Linked DNA regions of Homo sapiens: region 1 is linked to region 2. The links are contacts of gene promoters, found by promoter capture Hi-C in blood cells and fetal thymus (Javierre and others, 2016). All regions are on one chromosome and are shown on one strand. Each heading gives the region's core, a stretch centred on a gene start or on the middle of the fragment in contact. The rest is flanking DNA. Distances are from core to core; before and after follow the strand shown. Region 1 overlaps ST6GAL1 (ST6 beta-galactoside alpha-2,6-sialyltransferase 1). Region 2 holds the start of RFC4 (replication factor C subunit 4).

What was found. The method cuts DNA at HindIII sites, captures the fragments that hold promoters and counts their contacts. A CHiCAGO score of 5 or more calls a contact.
Region 1: a fragment that was not itself captured here is called in contact with the fragment with the promoter of RFC4 in region 2 in 4 of 17 cell types (activated CD4 T cells, total CD4 T cells, naive CD8 T cells and 1 more); the score reaches 6.0 in activated CD4 T cells.

What each region holds. Positions count from the first base shown.
Region 1 is chr3:187,062,956-187,069,244 of GRCh38, reverse strand. All of the region lies in intron 5 of ST6GAL1 (ST6 beta-galactoside alpha-2,6-sialyltransferase 1), which reads right to left. Among named protein-coding and RNA genes, the nearest start is that of RPL39L, 73 kb to the left of the region's middle. RefSeq lists a silencer at 2,435-2,484 and an enhancer at 3,432-3,611. The HindIII fragment of the contact is 2,591 bases long and covers 644-3,234 here.
Region 2 is chr3:186,804,583-186,811,596 of GRCh38, reverse strand. RFC4 (replication factor C subunit 4) reads left to right here and starts at 5,115. Exons shown (of 11, transcript NM_002916.5): 1 at 5,115-5,307; 2 at 6,873-7,014. The coding sequence starts at 6,884. LINC02043 (long intergenic non-protein coding RNA 2043) reads left to right here. Exons shown (of 4, transcript NR_125409.1): 4 at 1-717. RefSeq lists enhancers at 4,336-4,947, 4,948-5,559. The HindIII fragment of the contact is 2,364 bases long and covers 4,482-6,845 here.

The sequences.
Region 1 (6,289 bases), core at 690-3,189, 260 kb before region 2:
GCGAATAGCTTGAACTCAGGAGGCAGAGGTTGCAGTGAGCCAAGATCGTGCCACTGCACTCTAGCCTGGCGACAGAGCGAGACTCCGTCTTGAGAAAAAAAAAAAAAAAGAAGAAGTTCAAGGATGAGACTACTGGCCAGGAGTTCCCTGGCTGACAGGCCATAAGAACTAAGAACAGAACCCACATCTTGTAACTTTTAAGTACTGTCCTCCTTCCACTGGGAACGTTGTAACTTAACAACAGCCCTTCAGGTCTATAGTCCAAGGGCAGAGCAGGCTTCCTGCTAGATGGGGATTTGTAAGATAGACGTGACTGAGCTGGTGACAGGGAGGCCTGAGGACAGAGGGCCAGTACTCCCTATCCTCATCCACCCTATTCCCCTGAAAACAGCTGTTATATTAAAAGCAAAGTGTCTTTTCTTTAGCTATGCTTCTTTCTATGCAGAGTACTGATGCCAGGTGATATATACATACTCATGAGGAATAGCAATAACTGGGATTTTTAAAAAATGTCTCCCCCTGCTATAGCCCCTTTCCAGCAATTTTGAGTATGCAAAGCAGGAGGCCAGCAACTCCTGGCTCCCTGAGACTTTCCCAGCTGTGGCTTCACCGTCCTCAGAAATTCCAAGAGATGCACGAAGCTTTCTTCTTTACAATATGTGAAAACAACAGACACCATTTAATGATGCTTACTACATGCTAGGTACTGTCATACCTCAACTCAGTTTATCTTCACAACAGCCCTAGGAAGTAAGTGTTAATATGTTCATTTTATGATTAAAGAAATAGAGATGCTAAATGCTAAGTAACTTGTCCAAATTACACAGTCAGTAAGTAAGAGAGTCTGAATTGGATTCTTAGGTCTAGCTCCAGAGACCACACTTCTTTTTTTTTTTTTTTTTTGAGATGGAGTCTCGCTCTGTTGCCCAGGCTGGAGTGCAGTGGCACGATCTTGGCTCACTGCAACCTCCGCCACCCAGGTTCAAGTGATTCTCCTGCCTCAGCCTCCCAAGTAGCTGGTACGACAGACATGTGCCACCACACCCAGCTAATTTTTTGTATTTTTAGTAGAGATGGGGTTTCACTGTGTTAGCCAGGATGGTCTTGATCTCCTGACCTCGTGATCCACCTGCCTCGGCCTCCCAAAGTGTTGGGATTACAGGCATGAGCCACCACACCCGGCCCAGAGACCACACTTCTAACCTATGTGCTATAATGCCTCACATAATGTGGGCAGGGTAGGGTACCACAGCTCTTGGGGAAGGACGTCAGAGAACACTGGATAGGAGTATGGAGTGTCAGGAGAATTTGCTTCTTGCCTGAGTTGTAGTATGTCACAGCTGGATGATACTCAAGGTATTAAATTCAGACCCATCATTTTCCAGATGGGTAAACTGAGGCCCAGAGAGACAAGAGAATTGTCTAAGGCTACGATGAGTTTGTGGCACAGTTAGAACCAGAGCCCAGAGGCAGGCTCCTAACAGATATTCTTTCTGCTCCAGCAGGACTACACCCATAAAACCATCAGACATTCAAATAAGCAAGCACACCATGAGGGTCAGGTCACCCTCAGTCTTCCTGTATCCAATGGAAAAACAGCCATTCACTTGAGCTACTTGAGATGAATGAGACAGTAATCCATGAAAATAGAAACAGGTGAAGATGAATGATAGTTTTATCCAGAGAAGAGAAACAGAAAGTGGCTGGGGCTGGGATCTGGTTGAGGGATAAGGGAGAAGCCAGCAAGCACTCCCCTCCTGGAACTTTACACATGGCTCTGAACTCACCCACATTAACACCATCTATATGAAGTTCAAAGATTTTCTACCAAAAAAAAAAAAAAAAAAAAAGGTTGCCTTGCCAGGTGCAGTGGCTCACACCTGTAATCCCAGCACTTTGGGAAGCTGAGGTGGGCAGATCACTTGAGGTCAGGAGTTCGAGATCACCCTGGCCAACATAGTAAAACCTCGTCTCTACTAAAAATACAAAAATTAGCCAGGCGTGGTGGCGGGCACCTGAAATCTCAGCTACTCAGAAGGCTGAGGCAGGAGAATCGCTTGAACCCCGGAGGCAGAGGTTGCAGTGAGCCAAGATCGCACCACTGCACTCCAGCCTGGGTGACAGAGACTCTGTCTCCAAAAAAAAAAAAAAAAAAAAAAAAAAGAAAGAAAGAAAGAAAAGAAGATTGCCTTAAAACTGGATGGGGAATTGGAAGCATGGGTTCCAGTCCTGCTCTGTGTCTAACTCACTCCATGGTATTAGATGGACCATGTCACATCTCCTGGCCTCAGGTGCCTTATTTAGACATAACCACCTTGTAAGGCCCTGCTGAGGGGACCAGCTGTTCCTGGAAGAATAAAGCTGTTCTCAAACGCCTGTACTTACCTGCAGGGGGAGTGTGACCTGGGTTTGGAGATCCTCTTAGGGGGCAGGGGAGGAGTTCATGCTGAGAATAAGTCATTGGCAGAGCAGCAGAGCCCTGGGGAACATCTGCCAGGAAAAGGCTACACCAGGGCATGGAGTGCTGCTGCTCAAGACACTGTTTAAAGTAACCTTCTCAGTTAGAAAGTAACAAATACTCACTGGGGACAGTTAGAAAATGCAAGAATAGAAACACACACACACACACACACACACACACACGCACGCACGCACATCTTCAGATATTACCACTGTGCATATTTTGGACTTTTTTCTTCTCAAATCTGTTTTCCCTCTGTTATAGACTGAATTGTGTGCCCCCAGAATTCCTATGTTGAAGCCCTAATCCCTAATGTGACTAATACCCTGTTTGGAAATAGGGCTGTGAGGGAGGTAATTAGGATTAAATGTGTCATGTGGTGGGGCCCTAATCCAATGGGGCCAGTGTCCTTACAACAAGAAGAGACCCGCAGAGCTCTCTCTTTCCACCACGCACAGAGGAAAAGCCATGTGAAGACACAGCCTGAAGGCATCCTTTCTCTGATTCGGAGAACTAGTGACTGAGACTGTGTCTGCTGGCCCAAATCAAGAAGCCCCAGAACTCATGATTGCCATCATGATTAAATTTTAGCTCCAATTATGATATTAATAGACTGTATGGCAGGGGTTCCATCAAAATCACCCAGCTCACCATCGCTGGTTTTAGACCCGTTGTTGATGGAAATCTCGCCCACCTCCCACCCGCCCTGCCAACCCATCCAGATACCTGTCTTTCAGTATCTTGAGAAGAAAAGTTGGAGCTTCCAGAAAGCTTTGGTGATTTAAAGTGCTGGTGGCAAACACCTAGAACCAAATCCCACCTCTGTCGCTTACTTTCTGGGCTCCTGTGAGCAACTTAAACTCTGGGAGCCTGAGTTCTGAGGTAAAATGGTGGTTGGTGGTCATACCTCACAGGGTTTGCCATGAAGATCAAATGAGAGAAGGCATGTAAGACCCTTAGATGGTATATATAATATATTTAACAAATGGCATCAACTATTATTTCAAGATAAGCCCCACTGAGTAATCTGGAAATGTCCTGGTTGCAGTCCAGTCAGTGTGGACTGTTGCTAGGCATATAGGAAGTAGGTCTTCTCTCTCCAGCTAGCACAAAAGCTTCCAAGGAAGCCACTGGGTCTTCTTGTCCCATTGTCTCCTCTCTCAGGCCCACAGGGTACAGGAGGTACTGAGTTGAGTCTCACAGAAACCTTCTTACTCTTATAGTCAAAACTGCATTTATTTAAAGACCTGTCCATTTACATATATCATTTTTCCTGTTGACTCTCATAGCCACACCTGGCACAGAAGTGTCACATGCCTGACTAGGTCTGCTGGCCTGAAACCTAACAGTATGACACCATTCTCTATAAAAAGCCACCTTCTCAATAAGAAAAGTGCCTTTTTTGTTTTGCATGCCTTCATCATGGCCAAGGGAGGGGAGCTGAACAAATGTGGGTCCAGATGGCTTTAGAAGAGAGCTGCTAAAGCCAGGCGCAGTGGCTCATGCCTGTAATCCCAGCACTTTGGGAGGCTGAGGCAGGTGGATCACCTGAGGTCAGGAGTTTGAGACTAGTCTGGCAAACATGGCAAAACCCTGTCTCTACTAAAAATACAAAAAATTAGCTGGGCATGGTGGTGCATGCCTGTAATCTCAGCTACTTGGGAGACCGAGGCAGGGGAATCACTTGAACCCAGGAGGCAGAGCAGGGAGCCGAGAGTGCACCACTGCACTCCAGCCTGAGCGCAAGAGCAAAACTCTGTCTCAAAAAAAAAAAAAAAGAAAAAGAAGAGAGCTGCTGTCAGGAGACCTCTCCGTCTGGGAAAAGAACAAGCCACTCAGAGGCAGAATTCTACCAAAGCAACAGCTATTCTCTCAGTGACTTCTGGGTGCCAGATGTTCTCCTTGTGGAGTGGGGGTGGGGACCCCGTTTACTAATCCACAGAAACAGACACAAAATAGTTAGGATAACTGACCAGGACAAAAGATAGAGAAGACAGACCACCAGCTTTTTAGGATATCAAGGTAAGAAAGGGCAATGATAGAAAGTGTCCATCACAGTTCAGTACCACCACAAGTGCTGTCATGGAGCGGCCAGGACTCGAGTACGAAAGGAACAGCCAGATACTTAGTGTTGCTTACAGGAGGTGAGAAAAGAGAGCTGACTTGCCTAAGAAGCAGCAGGAAAGGCTCTCTTGAGGGTGGGTAGTGTATCCCGGGAAGTGGGCCACCTTCCTCGCAGCCCTGGCACAATGGTGCACAGAGATCTAGAAGTGTAATGGGAAAAAAATCTGCTTCAGTAGAAAGCCATGCATTTTCTGAGCACACTCTTCCTCCCTGTCAGATTCTGATTCCACGGGAGCTATTTCGCAACCCTTTGTGAATTGTAGGCAACTAATACATGTGCCTACTGGGCAGGATGCTGCCCAGGAGAGTTTCAATTGATTTCTCCCCTCCCCCTGCCTTATCTCACAGAAAAACTAGTTCAACTCCTTTACTCCAAATTTGTGTTGCTTTGACTTTTCCTTTGAACCAGTTGTAATATCTGCCTGGTTCCATCATACGAGTAAAATAAAATCTTCATGATGAATTCATTTTTAATATCTGTATGAGAGTCATCATCTTACCTTTTTTTCCCTAAAAATTATCCTTTAACAGAAGTTTTGCCTCCCTTCTGCTAGATGCCTCTCAAGTGGTCTCAAGCTGACTCACCTTCCCTGTTGGGATTTGGGAAGGTGGAGTCATTCGCAAACAGGCAGAGGCAGACATTCAGGTTTCAGTAGTGCCCATCGCTACTATTTACAAAGCACTTGCTGCATACCAGCCTCTGGGTGACATGCTCCACACATAGTAACTCCTTTGATCCTAAAAAAAAACCCTGGATAGTAACTATTCATATTTCTGTGTTACAAGTAAGGGAAATGAGGCTCAGAAAGGTAAAGTAAAGCAACTTGCTGAAGTCACTCACACAGGAAGTGTTGGGGGAGGGATCTGATCAAAGCCTGCCTGACTCCAGTACTCTTAATTCCCAGGCAACCTTACTTTGGCCTTAAATACAGTTTCAAATCTTTGCAGGACTGGGGTTTCGTTCTTCACAGTGAGGAAGACTGAATCATCACGAAGAAGTGCTCAGAGAGTAGGTAGCCTCCGCAGTCCAAGAGAGTGCTCAGGGAGGGCTCCTCCCCTCTCCCCTCTCCTCTTTGCTGCTGCCTGCTCACCTCCAGATCCTACCATCCATGTATCAAACAGAGATTGGTTTCTCTCTAAATTCATTCTCTTCAACCTCAAAGTAGCCCAGCATGGCCTGGAAATCCTACTCCATTCATCAGGTTTACTGACGGTCCCACTCACCTCAATGACAATTATAAATCTCTTTGTTCAAACCTTCTCTACTAAAACCTCTTTCCCCCTCAGCCTCCTTCTGACTTGGCCTTGCATGCCACTTTGCAGAGAAAATAGAAGCCCTCTCATCCTTCTAATACTGACTGCCTCCAGCTACACCACTCGCACCTTCTTCCCTCTGACTCCCGCCTGCTGGGGTTCATCCTCCACTACGCTTTGGCTCCACCACCATCATGTTGTGGGTAACTAATCATTTTCTCCTCTTTTTAGTATATTCACTTTCTCCCTCTATCAACTGGTTTCTCCCTGTTGATTTAAAAGAAAGCTTTTAAAATATACATAACATAAAATTGACCATTTTAGCAACTTTAAGTATTCAGCTTAGTACATTCCTATTGTTGTGTAACTATCACCACCATCTCCAGAACTTTTTCAGCTTCCCAAAATGAATCACAGTATTCATTAAACAACAATTCCACATTCCTTTCT
Region 2 (7,014 bases), core at 3,866-6,365:
GAGGGGCGCCTCTGCCCGGCCGCCCCTACTGGGAAGTGAGGAGCCCCTCTGCCCGGCCAGCCGCCCTGTCCGGGAGGGAGGTTGGGGTGGGGGGGTCAGCCCTCCGCCCGGCCTGCCGCCCCGTCCGGGAGGTGAGGGGCGCCTCTGCCCGGCCACCCCTACTGGGAAGTGAGGAGCCCCTCTGCCCGGCCACCACCCCGTCTGGGAGGTGTGCCCAGCGGCTCATTGAGAACGGGCCATGATGACAGTGGCGGTTTTGTGGAATAGAAAGGGGGAAAAGGTGGGGAAAAGATTGAGAAATCAGATGGTTGCCGTGTCTGTCTAGAAAGAAGTAGACATGGGAGACTTTTCATTTTGTTCTGTACTAAGAAAAATTCTTCTGCCTTGGGATCCTGTTGATCTGTGACCTTACCCCCAACCCTGTGCTCTCTGAAACATGTGCTGTATCCACTCAGGGTTGAATGGATTAAGGGCGGTGCAAGATGTGCTTTGTTAGACAGATGCTTGAAGGCAGCATGCTCGTTAAGAGTCATCACCACTCCCTAATCTCAAGTACCCAGGGACACAAACACTGCGGAAGGCCGCAGGGTCCTCTGCCTAGGAAAACCAGAGACCTTTGTTCACTTGTTTATCTGCTGACCTTCCCTCCACTATTGTCCTATGACCCTGCCAAATCCCCCTCTGCGAGAAACACCCAAGAATGATCAATAAAAAATGAAAAAAAAAAGAAAAAAAAGAAAAGAGATTTCTTTAGCTCACAATTCTGGTAGCTGCAAAGTCCAAGAGCATGGCGCCAGGCTGTTCAGCTTCTGGTGAGGGCCTCATGCTGCCTTATGACATGGAGGAGAAGCAGAAAGGTGAGCAGGCACGTGCTGAGTGAGGGGACCAAGGAGGCTGACCCACTTCATAACAACTTGCTCTCTCAGGAGCTAATCCATTTCCATAAGAACGAATACAATCTCCCAGGAACAAGAACTCACTCACTATCTTGAGAATGACACCAGTCTATTCATGAGGGATCCACCCCAGTGAGCCAAACACCTCACACTAGGCCCCACCTCCACACTGGCAATTAAACTTCAACATGAGTTTGGGCGGGAACAAACCACATCCAAACTGTAGCATCCTCCTAGACTAGCCCTTGGAGGTGGGCTGCCTCCACAAAAGGAATGCAATTTTTGATAAAGTGGTTTTGTTGGCTGAAGACAGTTGCTGGACAGGGACTCATTCAAGAGTTGGCCAGCAACCCTCCCAGCAGCTGGGGGAGTGAGTATCTCAGTCCTGAAAGGTAGCATACCAGAGCATCCACTACACCTGCATTTTCTGATTTTTTTTTCTATTTATTTGTTATTTTTCTAGAGATGGGGTCTCAGCTGTGTTGCCCAGACTGGTCTCAAACTCCTGGGCTCAAGTGATCTTCTCACCTTGGCCTATCAAAGTGCTAGGGTTATAGGCATGAACTACTGCACTCAGCCTGCATTTTCTGATTTCAAAATGACACTATCATCCACTATCTGATCTTTTCCACTCCTGACAGCTCTCTTTTTTCATTTGCTACCCAAGTCTTTTCCTTTCCTAGTGACCTTATAAAATATCATCCAGGCCAGGCACAGTGGCTCACGCCTGTAATCCCAGCACTTTAGGAGGCTGAGGCGGGAGAATCACTTGAGGTCAGGAGTTTGAGACCAGCCTGAACAACGTGGTAAAACCCTGTCTCCACTAAAAATACAAAAGTTAGCCACGTTTGGCAGCATGTGTCTGTAATCAAGTGGCTGAGGCACGAGAATCACTTGAATCCAAAAGGTGGAGGTTGCAGTGACCTGAGTTAGTGCCACCGCACTCCAGCCTAAGCAACAGGGTGAGACTGTGTCTCAAAAAATTTAAAAAAAAACATAATCCAGGGCCAGAGGCAGTGGCTAACACCTGTATTCCCAGCACTTTGGGAGGCTGAGGTGGGAGGATCCCTTGAGCCAAGGAGTTCAAGACTAAACATAGGGAGATCTCGTGCTCTCTCTCTCTCTCTTTCTCTCTCTCTCTCTCTCTCTATATATATATATACACACACACACACACACACACACACACACACACACATCATGCAGGTACAGTTTTGTATCATCTGTTTCAAAGGGCAACGCACTAAATAAAGCTGTACTCAACTTTTGAAAGCCCTCTTTTAAGATTAAAAAACTTCACAGGGTCCAGGCACGGTGGCTCACACCTGTAATCCCAGCACTTTGGGAGGCCAAGGTGGGTGGATGCCGAGGTGGGCAATCACGAGGTCAGGAGTTCGAGACCAGCCTGGCAAACATGGTGAAACCCCATCTCTAAAAAAAAAAATACAAAAATTAGCTGGGTGCAGTGGTGCACACCTGTAGTCCCAGCTACTTGGGAGGCTGAGGCAGGAGAATCACTTGAACCTGGGAAGCGGAGGTTGCAGTGAGCCAAGATTGAGCCATTGCACTCCAGCCTGGGTGACAGAGTGAGACTCCGTCTCAAAAAAGAAAAAACAGAAATAAAACAAAACAAAAAAACTTTACAAATCTCCACATAATAGTATCATAGTAGTAACTGAATGAATGCCCATTACAATAAATAATAAAAGCTATTATAAACTTGTTAAACTGGTTTAATCATGTGAACACCCACATATGTATGACACAAAAAAAGATAAGTATTTATATAAGGACATTTCTTGTTCTGGTGAGAGAGACAATGCTTGGTGTGCACACAAGTTCTTCAACTACCTGGATTAGGATGCTGCCTATAATTGTGTACAATAACGGAGTAGTCAGCTGAGGGGCAAGTGGAGATAGAAATCCAGCCCAATCTCTTATCACCAAGTTTTTCATCCCACCAAGGGCTGAATGTACCTGCAGAAAGGTGGCATTTTTTTAAAATCAATTGCCAAAACAAGATACCACTCAGGTCTCTCTTTTCTATTTAACATTAAGGCACCTCTATGCCAGCCCTGAACCTGCCCAGTGACTGATCACAAGCTTTGAGTCTGGAGTCAGTCCAAGATGTGGATTATGGCTTTGCCACTTACTTGCTATTAACCTTTGTTGTAGTCTGAATGTTTGTCCCCACACCCCCAAATTATAGTTATTGAAATTATAACTCCCAAGGTGATGGTATCAGGAGGTGGGGCCTTTGGGAGGTGACTGGTTCAATAGAGTGGAACCCTCATGAATGGGAGAAATGCCTTCATAAAGGAGATGGCTGGAGAAAACTAGTTAGCCCTTTCCACCAAGTGAGGTTACAGCAGTAAGACAGCTGTCAATGAGGGAGTGAACCCTCACCAGCCACTGAATCTTATGGTGCCTTGATCTTGGACTTCCCAGCCACTAAAACTGTGAGAAATAAATTTATGATGTTTATAAGCCACCCAATCTATGGCTTATAAACATAGCAGCCAAAATGGACAAAGACCACTTATCCATCAGCTTGTCTGTTTTTTTGTTTGTTTGTTTTTGAGACGGAGTCTCGCTCTGTCACCAGGCTGGAATGCAATGGCGTGATCTCAGCTCACTGCAACCTCCACCTACCGTGTTCAAGCGATTCTCCTGCCTCAGCCTCCCAAGTAGGTGGGATTACAGGCACCTGCCATCATACCTGGCTAATTTTTGTATTTTTGTAGAGATGGAGTTTAACCATGTTGGCCAGGCTGGTCTTGAACTCCCGACCTCAGGTGATCCGCCCACCTCGGCCTCCCAAAGTGCTGTGATTACAGGCATGAGCCACCGTGCCCAGCCCAACTTGTCTGTTAAATGAGATCATAACATCCCCCTCTCTGTGGTTGTGCTGTTCCTTCAGGTAGCAAATGGATACCATCTATTTTCATAGATCTTGTTTTATCAACTGTATTGTGGTATAATTTACATACAATAAAATATACAAGCATTAAGTATACAGTTTGATAAGTTATGGTAATGTAAACCGGTGACCAGATAGATAACCTGTGTGTTTTTTATACTGTCCAGAGATTGTATCAGACTCTGTGGAAATTACAAAGTAGCATAAAGCATCCTTACTTTGGTTAAACCCTTGATTGGGTTAGGCCTGGGATGTAAGTTCTCACAGCCCCCTACTTCCTCTGCATAACCACACATCACATTGTCTGTCACTCTCCTAGTCTGTAAAGCTACTTGAGGGCATCTCGAGCGTTTTCCCTGCTGTATCTGCAGGCATCTAACACAGTGCGTGGACATTCTGTAAGCATTTGTTGCAAGATAAATGAAAAAAACGTACAAAGTTAACAATGGATATCATGCTGAGTTTGTGCCAAACAAAACAGTCATTTGAAGAAGACCCGGAACAACCTTATGGGTTAGTAATTAGTAAAGACCAGTAGAGAAGGTGGCCTTTGAGAAGGGTCAGGTTTCAATAGGATTAAGGAGCATTTCAGAGCTAAACCAAGTACTTGGAAGAGATAAAAGCAGTGGGCTCAGGCACCAGCCTAGCCCACTGTGCATGAAGCTTGGTGGGGCTAAACATGATTATCAGTCCTTTAACTTTTATTGAACGCCTTCACTTCCAGATTTCTAAGTGGGGCTCAGGAATTATAATAGATGTCCACAGCTGCATGGTCTTCTCTCTCCACAACACGCAGACACTATTAGAAGTAAAAGCCACGTGTCCTCAAGAGGGCAAGGCAAAGCATCTTCAGATGTCTCTGCCCTTAAAGCACACGCGTTCTGCTCTGCGACGAAGCAGGACAAGGAGGACAGGGACCTGCACCTCCGGAGGCCCGCACCTACGAAGATAGCGGGCTCGGGACCTTCGGTGGACCGGCAGGGTTCCAGAGGCCCGCGCGCCGCCGCCCCGCCCTCATTGCTGAGCCTGCCAGGTAAGCAGCCCCAGCGCCGTGCCCGCGCGACCTCTACTCCTTCCGGGAGGGTCGCGCTCACGTCTGAAGTGGGAGCAATGCACCGGGACAGGGACACCTCCTAGGCCATGCCTGTTCCAGTCCAGTTCTGCCTGAAAGTCCGGCTGGCTCATCACCTGCCTAAATAAAACCGTATACGGGCAAACTCCCTCCGCAAGCAGCGCGCCCCAGCACCGGAAGTGACGCGTTACGTGCCCGCGTATTCCTACCGGCGTATTCCCGCCCTGCTTTTCGCCCGCCGTTCCGTGGCGGGAACTGAGGCGACTGTGGGGACATCAGTGATCGTAAGTCTCCTGGGCCCGTTATTCTCAGATTAGGTGACGGAGCTAAGACTTCGAGACCATCTCGTCCTTTTTGTATCGCGGAAACCTGAGGAACGAGCCGGCGGCGGTGACCTGCACGAGAAGCCAGGCTAACTGGTAACCTGCTGGAGGAACTGCAAGCCCGCTTCGCCTTCCCCACTCCTGCCCTTGATGCCCCTTGTGAGGTCTTCCACCTCCTTCGGGGCCCCAGCCTAGTGGCCCTTTCATGCCCTGGCCGCGCCCTTTGGTGAAATGGTGGTTCCGGACAGCATCTTGCAGGCCCCGGCTTTGGGCTGTATTAATGTTTAACAGCCCGAGGCAGGGATGGACTAATCCAGTAACGTTATAAAAACCTTGGCTGCTAACAGATATTAAAAATTTATTTTATTGAGCATATCCCCATATGCCAAGCAAGGAACTATGTATTTGCATACATTCTTTTATTTAACTCAGTTGTCCTGTGGAATAGGCCTTAGCTCCTTTAACAGAAAAGGAAACCGGGTATCATAGATGGTAATTCATTCACCAAATATTACGGAGCATCTACCATGTACCAGGCACTGTTCTAGGCACCAGGGCATGTAGCAGTGAAAAAAATAGAATTAACCGGGGACTTTTCAGGCGAGCTAATGATGCTTTTTATCCCTGAAAACAGCCTGGAAGAATGTTTACCTGCATGTTAGAAATAGTTACCTTCTGGGTGGGATTTTGTATTACTTTTTTAAATCTCTCATGCTTTTATGCATTGTTTTGATTTCTTCAAGTGAGTGTGTTATGAGAAAAACAGCTGTTTCTATTTTAACAACAGAGTCCCCCACCTTCCCTTCCCCACAGAAAGTCTCTGAAGGTAGGTAAGCATTGACTCTGCCATGAAAATAGGTCCCTGGCCAGGCGAGATGGCTCACACCTGTAATCCCAGCACTTTGGGAGGCCGGGGCAGGAGGATTACTTGAGCCCAGGAGTTCCAGACCAGCCTAGGCAACATGGTGAAACCCTGTCTCTACCAAAAATTTAAAAAATTAGCCGGGGGTGGTGGCACGCACCTGTAGTCCTAGCTACTGGGGAGGCTGAAGTGGGAAGATGACAGGAGCCTGGGATGTCAAGGCTGCAGTGAACCATGATTCCGCCACTGCACTCCATCCTAGGCAAAAGAGTGAGACCCTGTCTCAAAAACAACAACAACAAAAAAAGGTCTTTGAGTTCTGACCCAAGGAAAGGAGTGAAGGTTCTCATTTGTGGTGCAAGCAGAGCACCTTTAATTGCCGAAGAGTCCATTTCAGGGTCTGAGCTAGAGCTAGGCCCATGACTGTGAAAGAAACCATGGAGGCCCATGTGGTTTGGTCATTAGCAACATCATATTTATCAATGCATTTGGAACTCATTAAACATTTTTGTGACATATGATCTTTGTTCTATAACTCCTGCACTAGAAATAGATTCTAAGTTCGTTAGGGACTTTGACCACTTTTCTGTTCTTGTAGCCCTCAGTACAGTGCATTCAGAGTGTCCTAGGTCATGGGGTGATGTCCTTTATTATGTAACATCTTTGCACAAGGCTAAGTTTATTTTCGGGCTGTACTTTCTCATAATGGTTCCCCACCACCACCCCCGCTTTCCTATGGTGCTGATTCGCAATAAAAGTTTCAATAAAAGCTTTTTTTTTCTGTCTTGCACCTGACCAGGGTGAAGTACCATGCAAGCATTTCTTAAAGGTACATCCATCAGTACTAAACCCCCGCTGACCAAGGATCGAGGAGTAGCTGCCAGTGCGGGAAGTAGCGGAGAGAACAAGAAAGCCAAACCCGTTCCCTGGGTGGAAAAATA